2 separate regions of the Homo sapiens genome follow, and region 1 is linked to region 2. Evidence: promoter capture Hi-C in 16 types of primary human blood cells and fetal thymus (Javierre and others, 2016). All regions are on one chromosome and are shown on one strand. The core of a region is centred on a gene start or on the middle of the fragment in contact, and the rest is flanking DNA. Distances in the headings are between cores, read along the strand shown. Region 1 overlaps ARHGEF7 (Rho guanine nucleotide exchange factor 7). Region 2 holds the start of ATP11A (ATPase phospholipid transporting 11A).

Region 1 (2,700 bases), core at 188-2,687, 1.4 Mb before region 2:
CAGCGGGGAAGGCACTGTGCCTCATGTTTAAAATGTTCTGCATTCTCCTACAGAGTTTCTTGTGTGGGATGATGTATTCTGTGATCCAACTCTGACCAGCTGAAATCATTTTCTAATTTTAGCATAAAGCATACTTCCTTTGACTTTTTCAAGAAAGGAGAAACAAAACCAGACACTGCTTTGACGTTGTTGCTAGAAGGGATGTCTTACATAATTTTATCCATCTATACATTATTTCCTATGAAAAGATGACCTTACAGTGGCTTCATAGCATGACCTGCATCTCACACAATTCCCTCCCCCATGCAGGGACTAGAATGTGATCGTTGCAGGAAGTTGATGGCTTCTATTCTTGAAATTGTGGCATTAGCTGCCGTCCCTCTCAGCCTGTGTTTTGAAGGTCGCGCACTTCCTCAGAATGCCGGCCCCACTCCGTTTCCAGTTCACAGCGCCACACAGCTTGTTCTCCCATTAAATGCACCTTACTATTGTTGGCTAATTTGAGGTCATTATTGGCTGATTTTGAGAATGACTTATTTAACTTTTCTCATTTAACTGTCATTGTGATGGAATATTTTGGGTTTTCCAGGAATATAAAATGCATTAATGGCACACCGCTCTAAGAAGTTAATTTTTGATTAACTTTGTTTTGATTAAAGTTGAGTTTTCTAAGAACATAATTGGTTTTAATACCAGGGTTTGGCAGTGTTCAGTAAAGATCCAGATGGTAAACGTTCTCTGCTTTACAGGTTCAGGCCTCTTGCAGCTGTACTCTGCCCTTGGAACACAACAGCAGTTTTAGACAGGCACAGGCCTGCCTGTGTGCCAGGAAAACTTTTTTAAAAAACAAAACTAGGCGATCAGGCCTTAGTTTCGCCCAGTACTTTATCACCAGGTGAAGAATAATACGTGGCTGGGGGGGAATCACCTTCCTTCTTACAGCCACATGCCCTGTGTGCTTTTGTGAAATTCTCATCTTTTTACTAGATGAAGTACCTTTTTTCTATAAATGTTACTCCGTAGCTAATAAATGTGGCTAGTGGATGTCTTTTGAGTGCTGGGGCCCCAGCTAGAGCTGCCCCTCCTGTCTGGGGCAGACGCCGTGAGGAGCCCCACGCTCGGCCCAGGTGGCGCGAGCTAGTGTTTGGCCCCAAAAACTGACTGCTGAGAGCCAGAGATACGAATGAAATGATAAATCCTGAGGTTTATTTCACATGGAGTGTTTAAAGAGCAGAAGGAAGTGCGTGATAAGTGCCCTTTCGCGGTGAGCACGCGAGTCTCATGTTCTCTGCCCTTCCCGCTCTGTGCCCTTGGCAGCTCCCCTCCCACCCGGTCACTCCGTCCAGCAAGCACGCAGACAGCAAGCCCGCGCCGCTGACGCCCGCCTACCACACGCTGCCCCACCCCTCCCACCACGGCACCCCGCACACCACCATCAACTGGGGACCCCTGGAGCCTCCGAAAACACCCAAGCCCTGGAGCCTGAGCTGCCTGCGGCCCGCGCCTCCCCTCCGGCCCTCAGCTGCTCTCTGCTACAAGGAGGTGAGGTCCCTTGACCACTCAAACAGCCAGATGACGGTGAGCATGCCTCGGGCCCTGGGTGTGCCCACGTGCTGGGCCTTCTGTGTACAGCAAAATGCACCCTAACTCCTAGAGAACTGAGAAGGGGGGGTCTGCCTTGGTTCTCTGGTTATCTGCTCTGCTGCTGAGAGGCCCGTGGTAACCTGTGTGGGAAGGCGATGTGCAGGGTCCCCCTCCTTTCTGCCATGCACAGGGGGGCCTTTACTGCACTTGCCGGAGGAGTGTGCCGCCAGGGGCCAGGAGCTGGAAAGGCGCTGAGCCCAGGTGGCTTTCACTCCCTGTGTGTGAGGCCATCGCTCAGCATCTGCACGCTGTCTGCTGCGTCTAACGACCCCTCCTCTAGGTTGGGGATCCTGTCCAGGAGCCCTGCATTTTGTCATCCAGAAGCCATTTGAGATGAAGAGAACATTTACTAATACAAATGAAAAACAATCACTTAGGCGGTTTCCCCCTTTGATGCATAAGAAATCATGATGCGGTCTTTGCTTGTCTCTGTTCTCATCCGGCATTTTTATATTTGCTAGGCGCAAATAAAGTACGATTCCAATGAATAAATAGAAGTGTTAACACTTCCTTACACTTTTACCTAAACCAGCTTGGATGAGGAAAGGAAGTGTCTTTAGAAATCTGTTCTGAGAAGTACTTTCACCTGAGGAAGCTGATAATTGAGATGAGAGTTGTTTTCATAAGCAGTTGAGCGTGCATGGTGGTGAGGTATGAGGAGTGGCGGTGAGAGTGTGGGTATCGTGCGCGTCAGTGTGAGCAGCAGTGCCCGTTGGTGGGGTGTGAGTGAGCGTGAGGATGGTGACACGCTCTTGCCTGGCATTGTGCCTCTGTGTCTGGTCAAGGCCACATTTGCCAAGGGAACTGGAGCAGACTTTTTCTACATTCTTGCCGGCAGCCCTGGGGGTTTTAAGGCCCACAGGAAAGTACTGTATGAGAAATTAGGATCTGTGCTTTTCATTTTTTGTTCTGAGTCTTTGTTTTTATGATATCTTTCAGGTAATCATGTGTGCAAGTCAGAATTTCCATTTTCTATCATGGGAAGTTACTTGAAGAATGTTGCTGTTCCTTATTGTATACTTTAGTGTGCACAGTCTAAAGAAAAAGTGAGCTACT
Region 2 (2,732 bases), core at 1-2,500:
CAGCAGGTTGTCCCTGTGGGTGAAGATCCACTGAGGGGGACCGCCAGCTTCCTGAGCACAGGGCAGGCCAGAGCAGGACAGGCTGGGATGGAAAATGAAGAATCAGTGCTTTAGCCGACAACAAATGGGAGCCGTTTACTGTTTAGTCACTATGATTAGTGTTCACTAGTACTCATTTCTCTTCGTCTAAAAAGTGGCCAACACCATCTCTTTTCCACAAGCACTCGGGAGAACATTCATATTCAATTGCCTTCCTAAGACCCAGACGGGGCAGCGCTCTCCACAGGCCACCAAAAGGTGTTGCCTGTTTGGTTTCATCAGTGATTATCTGTGGCAGCAAGACAGGAAGTTGGAAATCAAGTACCTCAATTAAGTCAAGGCTGACCGTGGAATTAGAGAACAAGTGTTTGTTACCCCGGCCAGGTCACCCTAGGGAAAACAGGCATTCTCCGGGATTGAAATGGTGGTGTTTGTGTGGTAAATAGTTCTCAGTCCAGTTCAAAGCCAGCAGCATTAAGGACACGCCACCGCCACCGGGAGCTGGAGACCAGGCGAAGCTGAGCTCCTCTGTGGTTCACCAACCCCTCAGGCCGCCTAAGTGTCTTCTGCTGTCGCAGCTTTGGGGACAGAGGGGTTTCGGAAACAGGGGCCTCTTGTCTGCACCCTCCCCTCCCACTGACAGGCTGGCAGCCCAGGGCAGCCACCTGAGGAGCGTCCCTGTGTCTCTCCATCTGCAGAGCAGGAAAAGCCTGCGGGTCGGTGGCGCCACGCTGGGGCGAGACCCAGCTTCGGCTCAGGAGATCTCCCACCCAGCCGGACTCCCGCTCTCTGCCCGCGGCCCCCTCCCACACTCCCACCTCGCCCCGCGATCTCACTGCCCCATCGAGGCTTCCGGGCGGAGGAGAAAAGTTTTCCGGCAGGAACCCGGGAAGGAAGCCCTGGGACCCTGGCTGAAACTCCGGGTTTCCCCAGTGCCGAGTCCCTTCCCCGCCGCGCCCAGCGCCTGCGCCCCGGGAGGCGGAAGCAACAGGGGGGTTCCTCCCCGCGGCCTCTGACCTCTGCCCTCTGCCCTCTGCCCCCAGGGTCTGGGGCCCGGGCGGAGGCGCGAGGGGGCAGGGCCGGCGCGCGGGTGCGAGCGCGGGTGTGGGCGCGGGGCCGGCGGGGGCTGCGGCCGCGGGGCGCATGCTCACTTGCGCCGGTGACGTGCGCGCCCGGAGCAGGGGCAGGAGCCAGCGGGGCCCGGAGGCTCCAGAGGGCGGCGGGCAGGGGAGGAGGAGACTCGGGAGGAGCAGAGCGCAGGCTCCGCCGCGGCCGGGGTGCTCCAGCCGAGCCCAACCGAGCGGGCGGACCGACGGGGAGAGAGAAGGCGCCAGAGCGCGCGCGCGCGGCCCCGAGCAGCAGCCTTGCCGCCAGTGGAGCAGCTGCCGACGCGCGGGGCCGCGGACCCAGCATTCGCCGGCCGGGCCGGGCATGAGCGCGGAGGGGCCGCGGCCGCCCCCTGCACCGCCCGGCGCGCCGAGGCCGTGACCGGAGCGGGGGGCGCGGCCGCACTAGTACCCCGGAGCCCATGGGCGCGCCGAGCCGGGCGCGGGGGCGCTGAACGGCGGAGCGGGAGCGGCCGGAGGAGCCATGGACTGCAGCCTCGTGCGGACGCTCGTGCACAGATACGTGAGTGCTCCCGGCGCGGGCTGGGGGACCCGGGGACCAGACAGACGCGGGCCGGCCCCGCAGCCCGGACCCTGTGGCCGGTCCAGCCCCGGGGTCCCGGGAGGTCTCCGATGTCTGGGACTCGGACCGCCCCCGGGGACGAGCGGGATGCTGGGGAGGGGCCTCGGAGTTGACACCCTGGGGCTTCCGACGGGGTCTAGGTGGGCACAGCGCGGGGCCCCAGCCCCGGGCGGCCACCTGCTCCCTGGCCGCGGCCGCCTGGCGCCCCCTTCCCGCCCGCAGCGCCCTGGGGGTCCCTCGGAGAGGCTGGCTGGGGTTCGAGCTGTCCCGGCGGACCGGGCGCCCGGAGGGAGCCAACTTCGACCCCGCCGGGGCCCGGGTCTGGGGAGGAACCTTCAGATGCGGCTTCCGCGCAGCCGTGTCTGTAAGATTAAGGGATTGGGAGGAAGCGTTACACTTCTGCAGAAAAAGGTAGCAATTGTGTTTGTTCTTTAACACCCCTGGGGGATTCAGAAGCGGAGTTTGGAATCTTTTTATTTTTTACCTTAAAGTAACCAATTAGATCAGAAGTCCGGGGTCTTCTTGGGTTCCTCTGGAATTTGCCCCTTCAGTGATAAGCAAGTGAAGAGCTCAGGAGGGAAGACTCGGAAGGGGAAAAGTTGATTTTGTTTTACACCAGAGGAGGGGAAACCGGAATCCCTGGCGTTAGGTGTAAAAAGGGGTGTGTGGCCGGGCGCGGTGGCTCACGCCTGTAATCCCAGCACTTTTGGAGGCCGAGGCGGGCGGATCACGAGGTCAGGAGTTTGAGACCAGCCGGACCGACATGGTGAAACCCCGTCTCTGCTAAAAAATACGAAAATTAGCCGGGCGTGGTGGTAGGCGCCTGGGATCCCAGCTACTCAGGAGGCTGAGGCAGGAGAATCGCTTGAACCCGGGAGGCGGTGGTTGCAATGAGCCGAGATCGAGCCACTGCACTCCAACCTGGGTGACAGAGCGAGACTCTGTATCAAAAAAAAAAAAAAAAAAGGGTGTGTGTGTGTGTGTGTGTGTGTAGGAGAGGAAGA

What was found. The method cuts DNA at HindIII sites, captures the fragments that hold promoters and counts their contacts. A CHiCAGO score of 5 or more calls a contact.
Region 1: a fragment that was not itself captured here is called in contact with the fragment with the promoter of ATP11A in region 2 in 1 of 17 cell types (M2 macrophages); the score reaches 5.6 in M2 macrophages.

What each region holds. Positions count from the first base shown.
Region 1 is chr13:111,281,822-111,284,521 of GRCh38, forward strand. ARHGEF7 (Rho guanine nucleotide exchange factor 7) reads left to right here. Exons shown (of 22, transcript NM_001354046.2): 16 at 1,318-1,542. Among named protein-coding and RNA genes, the nearest start is that of TEX29, 37 kb to the right of the region's middle. The HindIII fragment of the contact is 4,043 bases long and covers 1-2,700 here.
Region 2 is chr13:112,688,788-112,691,519 of GRCh38, forward strand. ATP11A (ATPase phospholipid transporting 11A) reads left to right here and starts at 1,251. Exons shown (of 30, transcript NM_015205.3): 1 at 1,251-1,668. The coding sequence starts at 1,630. LOC102725228 (a long non-coding RNA gene) reads right to left here and starts at 1,028. Exons shown (of 2, transcript NR_187633.1): 1 at 876-1,028; 2 at 1-82. RefSeq lists an enhancer at 88-605 and silencers at 854-1,783, 1,804-2,043. The HindIII fragment of the contact is 3,702 bases long and covers 1-2,732 here.